2 separate regions of the Homo sapiens genome follow, and region 2 is linked to region 1. The links are contacts of gene promoters, found by promoter capture Hi-C in human tissues and cell types (Jung and others, 2019). All regions are on one chromosome and are shown on one strand. The core of a region is centred on a gene start or on the middle of the fragment in contact, and the rest is flanking DNA. Distances in the headings are between cores, read along the strand shown. Region 1 holds the start of SENP5 (SUMO specific peptidase 5). Region 2 has its middle 21 kb from the start of CEP19.

Evidence for each region. Contacts are between HindIII fragments. The study calls those that stand out against the background at their distance.
Region 2: a contact is called between a fragment that was not itself captured here and the fragment with the promoter of SENP5 in region 1, in 1 of the 25 tissues and cell types used here (hippocampus).

Annotation. Positions count from the first base shown.
Region 1 is chr3:196,865,527-196,869,210 of GRCh38, forward strand. SENP5 (SUMO specific peptidase 5) reads left to right here and starts at 2,394. Exons shown (of 10, transcript NM_152699.5): 1 at 2,394-2,547. RefSeq lists a silencer at 2,171-2,750 and an enhancer at 3,402-3,684. The HindIII fragment of the contact is 4,194 bases long and covers 889-3,684 here.
Region 2 is chr3:196,689,570-196,693,583 of GRCh38, forward strand. No RefSeq gene overlaps it. Among named protein-coding and RNA genes, the nearest start is that of CEP19, 21 kb to the right of the region's middle. The HindIII fragment of the contact is 6,798 bases long and covers 1-4,014 here.

The sequences.
Region 1 (3,684 bases), core at 1,144-3,643:
ATTAGCTGGGTGTGGTGGCGGTCACCTGTAATACCAGCTACTTGGGAGGCTGAGGCAGAATCACTTGAACCTGGGAGGCAGAGGTTGCAGTGAGCCGAGATTGCGCCATTGTACTCCAGCCTGGGCAACAAGGGCGAAGCTTGGCCTCAAAAAAAAAAAACAAACAACAACAACAAAAAAAAACAAAACCTGAAAATCTAATATTTAAAATTAAGAACTCAATGTATAGATTTAACAGCAGATTGGAGATTATAGAAGATAGACTCAATAACCTGAAAAACAGAAAACCTTCAAACTGAATAATTGAAAAAAAAATTGACATCACAAAGTGTAAAAGACACGGTGAACAAGATCAAATAATCTTACATATGGGCTGGGTGCCGTGGCTCATGCCTGTAATCCCAGCACTTTGGGAGGCTGAGGCAGGTGGATCACCGGAGGTCAGGAGTTGAAGACCGGCCTGACCAACATGGTGAAACCCTATCTCTACTAAAAATACAAAAATTAGCCGGGCGTGGTGGTGGGCGCTTGTAATTCTGGCTACTCGATAATAATACTATTATAATAGTATTATCTACCTCAGTAGATAATACTGCTGAGGCAGGATTATCGCTTGAACCCGGGAGGCAGAGGCAGAGGTTGCAGTGAGACGAGATTGCGCCACTGCACTCCAGCTTGAGCAAAAAGAGTGAAACTCTGTCTCAATAATAATAATAATAATCTTACATATGTAATTGGTGTCTCGGAGAACAGGCATAGAGAATGCAGCAAAAACCATATCTGAAGAGATAATGATTGAGAATTTCTCAAAACTGATGCAAGACATCTACCCACAAATCAGAGAAACTCAATGATATCCAAGACAGATAAATACAAAGAAAACAAAGATAGGGCACAAAATAAATGGCTAAAAATCACTAACAGGCTGGGTGCGGTGGCTCACGCCTGTAATCCCAGCACTTTGGGGGGCTGAGGCGGGCAGATCACGAGGTCAGGAGATCGAGATTATCCTGGCTAACTTGGTGAAACCCGGTCTCTACTAAAGAAATACAAAAAAAATTAGCCAAGCGTGGTGGTGGACGCCTGTAGTCCCAGCTACTCAGGAGGCTGAGGCAGGAGAATGGCGTGAACCCGGGAGGCAGAGCTTGCAGTGAGCCGAGATGGCGCCACTGCACTGCAGCCTGGGCGACAGAGCGACACTCCTCTAAAAAAAAAAAAAAAATCACTGACAAAGAGAAACTGTTAAAAAGAAGTGAGAGGGCCTGGTGTGGTGGTTCACGCCTGTAATTCGAGCACTGTGGGAGGCCCAGGTGGGAGGATCACTTGAGCTCAGGGGTTCAAGACCAGCCTGGGCAACATAGGGAGATGTCATCGCTACAAAAATAATGATAGTAATAGTAATAAAAAATTAGCCGGGCGTGGTGCAGGAGCCTGTGGTCGCAGGTACCCTGGAAGATGAGGTGGGAGGATCGCTTGAGCCCAGGAGGCAGAGGTTACAGCGAGCCTAGGGTGTGCCACGGCACTCCGGCTTGGGCGAGACAGCAAGACCCTGTTTGGAAAAAAAAAAAAAAGAAAAGAAAAAAGAAAAAAAAATCAACAGTAATTGCAGCCATTGCTTAGAACTAAGACTAAACAAAGCTTTTGTTTGGAAAGGAGTACTTTTTCATTAACATTGTTTAGAATTTTCTGACACATGATGATAATTAAAAGCAAACCATCCTGCAGTTGGCTTCGGTATTGTTTTTATCTTCTCCACCATCAATGCATATCCTTACTGCCTACACAGGCTCTCAGCAACGCACTGTTGGTTTTCCATTGCAGTCACCTCCACTTTATTCTTCCAGATCGAGTATGTTCAAAACTGAACTCATCTTCCGCCATAAATCTGCTATTATTATGTTTTTGCCTGTCAGGACATCGGCTTATAATTTTGGAAAGCATTCACAGTTGGGGCGGGTAAGACATAGATAAAGAGGCCAATCACAATACCAGGGGTAAGATCAATAGGAAAACCAGAGAGCGGACGCCTGGGCCAGGCCTCACAACGTCCAGAGCTGGAATGGGTCTTTTGCTTTCGGCGCAGGGGTGACGGGATCAGCGGAGGGTAGGGGTGTACACTAGCTGCGGTCTGATTTAGCCCTTTTAGGTTAAAAGCTGGAGAAGGGGCTGAAGTCTCAAACGCGCTTAGCAGCTCCTGAACGCGGTTCCCATCCCAGCGCGTTCTGAGGGAGGCCGGGGCTAAGGACGCGGTGACGGGCGGGGGCGGGGCGGCCCCGGGTCGGGAGGCGGGGCGGGAGCGCCGGAAGCGGGCGGTGCCAGGCCCAGCCTCGCAGGCGGAAGGGCGCGGAGGAGGTGACGCGATAGGCCAGCGCCGGCGTCGCGGCAGCCGCTTCAGAGGAAGCTCGGCGGCTGTGGCCGCGGCGAACAGGCCGGACGCCTCGTCGCTGGCGGGGCTTCCCTTGGAGCTGACGAAGGCGGGGTCCGCGGTCCAGGCTGCTGCCGCGACGGGGCCGGCGGCGGGGCAGCTGCCAGGAACGAGGGTAGCAGGTAAGCGGGGACGCGGGCAGACGAGTGACGGACTCAGCGATCGCCTGGCGGGGCTGGCTGGGGCCATTCCCGCGCCGGTGCGCCACCTCAGCGCCCGGTCCGGAGGCCTCGAGCCGCCCTCCCCCGCCCGAGCTGGAGGCCGCCGTCCGTCTCGGCCACAGCCTCCCTTTCCGGGGGAGGCGAGCGAGCTCGTCCCGAGGGGCCGCTGCCCTGCGCTCTCGCTCCAGCCGGGCTGTGCGTCGCAGGCACCGGGAAGCTGGCGCCCCCCAGCTCCTCCTGAAGCCGGGAAAGCTCTGAGAGGAGGAGCCGCTGTCACAGGCCTCCAGCTCCGGCCGCCGTGGAAGTCCGGGGTTTTTATTTGCTTAGACCGCTCTGCCTCCTTCCGGCCTTCGTTTCTTTCCTCGCGCTCCCCGGGACCCTTTTCCAGAGAGCCCGGTTGGGCATGAGCGCGGTGGGAGACGTCTTTTCCCTTCGGTCTGCTCTGAGCGGTATCAGCCTCCGCTCTACGCCCTGTGGCCACTCTGTCGGGGTGGAGGGATGCGGAGAGGATGTGGGAGTTTTGGACTTAGAGCGAGAATAGCCGAGGTGAAATCCTACCCTGCTCTCTGGTAGTGTTTTTCATCTCATGCTAGATAGACATTTCGACCTTTTTCACCGCAGGTAAAGTGGGACTTTCTTCTACCAATGTAAATTATAATGTTTGGAGAATTAAATGAAGAAAGCAGACGTTAGTTATGAAATGTTTTGAGAATCTGGTTAAATTTAATTTAAGAATATCCAGGACACTTCATGATAGGTTCCTACTTATGTTTTTTTTTTGCATTTTGCCCGGAATAACTAAGCTTGGTATGGAAAAGGTTGCCTAGAGATGCCAGGCGCTCGTGTGGTCAGAGCCTAACTGCAGTCTCTGTTTTGGGTGGGCAGCATCAGGAAGAAACCAGACTCTCTCCTAGCCATCCACATGTCTCACGCTTATTGATGGCATATTATTGGTATATGAGGGATGGCTTATATCAGTTTTGATCTTTACTCAAGATAGCTTTTTCCCAGTGCATCTTTTCTAGGAGAAAAGCTTGGTATGTAGAGGAGGGTGCTGGGGAGGGGGGCTTCATTTACACCTGGGCTCACAATTTTTTT
Region 2 (4,014 bases), core at 1,234-3,733, 180 kb before region 1:
GACAGAGCAAGACTCCGTCTCAAAAAAAAAAAAAAAAAGGCCATAGTATATCAGAATTCCATAGAAATAAGATTATTACAAAAAGCCTATAAGCAGAGAGACACTGGAATATACTGAAGCTAGTATGAGCAAAAGGGAATTGTGGGTTGGAACACCAATACCCACAGCAACAGTGAAGGAAAGCAAAAGCCTCGCACAGCGCTTCTCAAAGTGTGGTCTGGGGGCTTGTTAGAAATGCAATTTCTTGGCCAGGCGCAGTGGCTCACACCTGTAATCCCAGCACTTTGGGAGGCCAAGGCAGGCGGATCACCTGAGGTCAGGAGTTCAAGACCAGCCTGGCCAACACGGCAAAACCCTGTCCCTACTAAAAATATAAAAATTAGCCAGGCGTGGTGGCACACGTCTGTAATCCCAGCTACTCAGGAGGCTGAGACAGGATAATTGCTTAAACCTGGGAGGTGGGAGTTGCAGTGAGCTGAGATTGCGCCACTGCACTCCAGGCTGGGTGACAAGAGCGAGACTCTATCTCAAACAAATTAAAAAAAGAAAAAGGAAAATAAATGCAAATTCTTAGGCTCCACCCCAGACTTACTGAATCAGAAATTCTGGGGGTGGAACGCAGCAATCTGCGCTATCGTGAGTCCCACAGATGAGTCTGGTGCATGCTGAAGTCTAAGAACCACTAGCTTGAGTAGAGATTCAAAGTTTGGGTCTCTAGCACAGAAAGACTTTTGCAACAACGAGTCTCGGGAGGCGTAAAGCAAGCAGAGAGGACTGCAGCTGTTAAAAGTAGTCCTAAGAAGATTCTAGGTAGGAGAACTCAAGCGTGGGGAGCTGGGAAACCCCAGCTGGCAGGGAGGGGTCCTACCTGGCGAGCTGCCCCCCAAGGGCCTGCGCTGGTCAAGTGTCTCCCGAAGGGTCTGCCTGCGGGCAGGAGAAACACAGGTGTCCAGGACTAGTGTTCTGACTGATACGTGGCCCTAGGATTTCTCTCCTGGGACCACTTGGAGAGGCAACCCTTGGCTGCCAGAGGAAGAGACTGATGGAGGCAGCAGGACGGGAGGAAGGCCTGTGGGAGGAGGGTGCCAGAGTGGGAAGGGAGCATGTGAGGAGAGTCTTGATGGTTAATGCCAATTACCTCTAGAAAATTACCAGGCTTTACAGACTCAAGAGCTACTACCCAAAAGATTGAAAAAACTGCCTTAAAAAAAAAAAAAGCAACCCACCCCAGGGAAGAGAGAGAGCTATTTAGAAAACTCCAGAAGTAAATAAGCTCAGACAAATCTGAGATTTATCTGGTCTCTGCTCCTGAGTCCTGTCTGAGAATCAGGCACCTAAGAGACGGGGTGTTGTGTCCACCAGAGACGGTGGAGAGGCCGGGCACGGTGGCTCACACCTGTAATCCCAGCACTTCGGGAGGCCGAGGTGGGCAGATCACCTGAGGTCAGGAGTTCAAGACCAGCCTGGCCAAGGTGGTGAGACTCTGTCTCTTCTAAAAATACAAAAATTAGCCAGACTTGGTGGCGCACACCTGTAATCCCAGCTACTCGGGAGGCTGAGGCAGGAGAATCGCTTGAACCCGGGAGGCAGAGGATGCAGTAAGCCAAGATCACGCCATTGCACTCCAGCCTGGGTGACAGAGCGAGACTCCATCTCAAAAAAGAAAAGAGATAGCGAAGAAAGCCATCATCTCTGGTGGTTTGCAGGTTTGATTTTCATAGCAGAACCCTTAATGAAGATCTCAAGTAGAACTCTGAAATGGGAAAAACTTCAACATGTAAGAATTGAGCTGCTGTGGATAAATTAGGAGTCCAGTTCCCACCTCCTTATTCTTTTTATCACTCAGAACAATGACCACTTTTACACCCGACCCCAACCCTAGCTCCCCAGGATGCTGCTCCACAGAAGGCAGCTTGAAAAACGCCAATGGTTAACCTCTCTGGTGCCTTGCTGGGCTGCTGTAGGGACAGCGGGGTCACTGCTTCACAAAGTCACCCTTCCCGTTGCTGGCGGTTTTGATCTTCAGAGAGTTCTGTCTTTTCTTTTTTCTTCTTCTTCTTTTTTTTTTTTTTTCTGAGGCGGAGTTTTATGCTTTTCCCCCAGGCTAGAGTGTGCAATGGCGTGATCTGGGCTTGCTGCAACCTCTGTCTCCTGGGTTCAAGTGATTCTCCTGCCTCAGCCTCCCGAGTAACTGGAATTACAGGTGCACACAACCACGCCCAGCTAATTTTTGGATTTTTAGTAGAGACGGGGTTTCACCATGTTGGCCAGGCTAGTCTCGAACTCCTGACCTCAAGTGATCCACCCTCCTTGGCCTCCCAAAGTGCTGAGATTACAGGCGTGAGCCACCGCGCCTGGCCAGAAAGTTCTGTCTTTTCTTGAGGTGAGAGCTGCTCCCTAAATTTCCAATCACTGTGCCTAGTTTTTCCCTCTAGAAGTAGTAATATATTCTTCTACGTGAAAGATCTGTAAAGAACTAAAGAGCTTTAAGAGCAATCTTTTAACTTTTGCCTTTTCCAGGCAAAAATCTCATCACTTCTTGCAAAGGATTCTCATGTGACATGGTCACTCTCTGTGGGACACACTCCAGTTTGTCAACATCTTTTAAAATGAGGCTCCTGGAAGAAAACATGGCTCCAGACAGGATCTGATCAGGACCTTTCCCCCATCTGAGCACTAACCCTCAATTAATGTAGCGTAGGCTTACATTAGCTTTCTGGGCAGCCAGTCCACAGAGTGTTCATACTGCGACTGCTGCCAATTGGATGCCCTCTGTCTGTTTCACGTTGTTTTTAGGTTAACTGTTTCCTGTCCTGTGCTCTTGCAGTTGGCATTTCTTAATGCAAGTCATGGACTTTACTTGTGTCTCCATAATATCTTGTCCTGTAGGTGTTAGTCCAGTCACTCAAAATATTATAAAATACAGATCTTTTCCTTTTCTTTTTTTTTTTTTGAGATGGAGTTTTGCTCTTGTTGCCCAGGCTGGAGTGCAGTGGTGCAGTCTCAGCTCACTGCAACCTCCGCCTCCTGGGTTCAAGCAATTCTCCTGCCTCAGCCTCCCGAGTATCCAGGATTGCAGGCGTGCACCACCACGCCTGGCTAATTTTGTATTTTTAGTAGAGACGGGGTTCCACCATGTTGGCCAGGATGGTCTCCATCTCCTGACCTAGTGATCCACCCACCTCGGCCTCCCATAGTGCTGGGATTATAGGCATGAGCCACCACGCCCGGCTGGCAAAAGACTTTTTAAAAAAACTTTCACATATTGAACACTTACTCCATGACAGATGCTGTACTATGCATATGGTATCTAACTTCCTCCTTACGCTGGCCCAGTGGAAACAGGTATTAACGTCCCATTTTACAAATGAGAAAACTGGGGAAAGGAACAAAGATGAATGTATCCTGATTTCTGAGGGTCTTTTCGGCTGATGACTGAGCAGGGAGATGTTCTACACACACAGCCATTTAAGCCCCACCCAGCAGTCCTAAGGGAAGAGTTAGGCTCAGCACCGGATGAAAGGCTTGAACCACGGGAGCGAGAGCAGAAGAAAAACTCACTCCTGGTTCCTTCTCCCTAGGGTGACACCTCATCCACCTTTTGAAGAAAGTGGGGCCAGGCATAGGAATGGACCAAGAAAATGAAAAACAGTTAAAGCTGGATTTTAAAAATAAAGCTTATTGAGCATATAATGCTATAAAATGTGCTTGCTCATGCAGTTGTCTTGGATGTAAGACCCTGATATTTGGATACAGTGGCTTTATCAGGATGAAATATTTTTTCTTCCTTGACTTCCACCATGCCCAGTTAATTTTTTGTATTTTTAGTAGAGACGGGGTTTCACCGTGTTAGCCAGGATGGTCTCCATCTCCTGACCTCGTGAGCCGCTGGCCTCGGCCTCCCAAAGTGCTGGAATTACAGGCGTGAGCCACCACGCCCGGCCTTGACTTCCTTTTTTGGTTTTGCGGGAGGGAATGGATTGAGTGAAGGAGGAACCCCACACAGTCTACTCT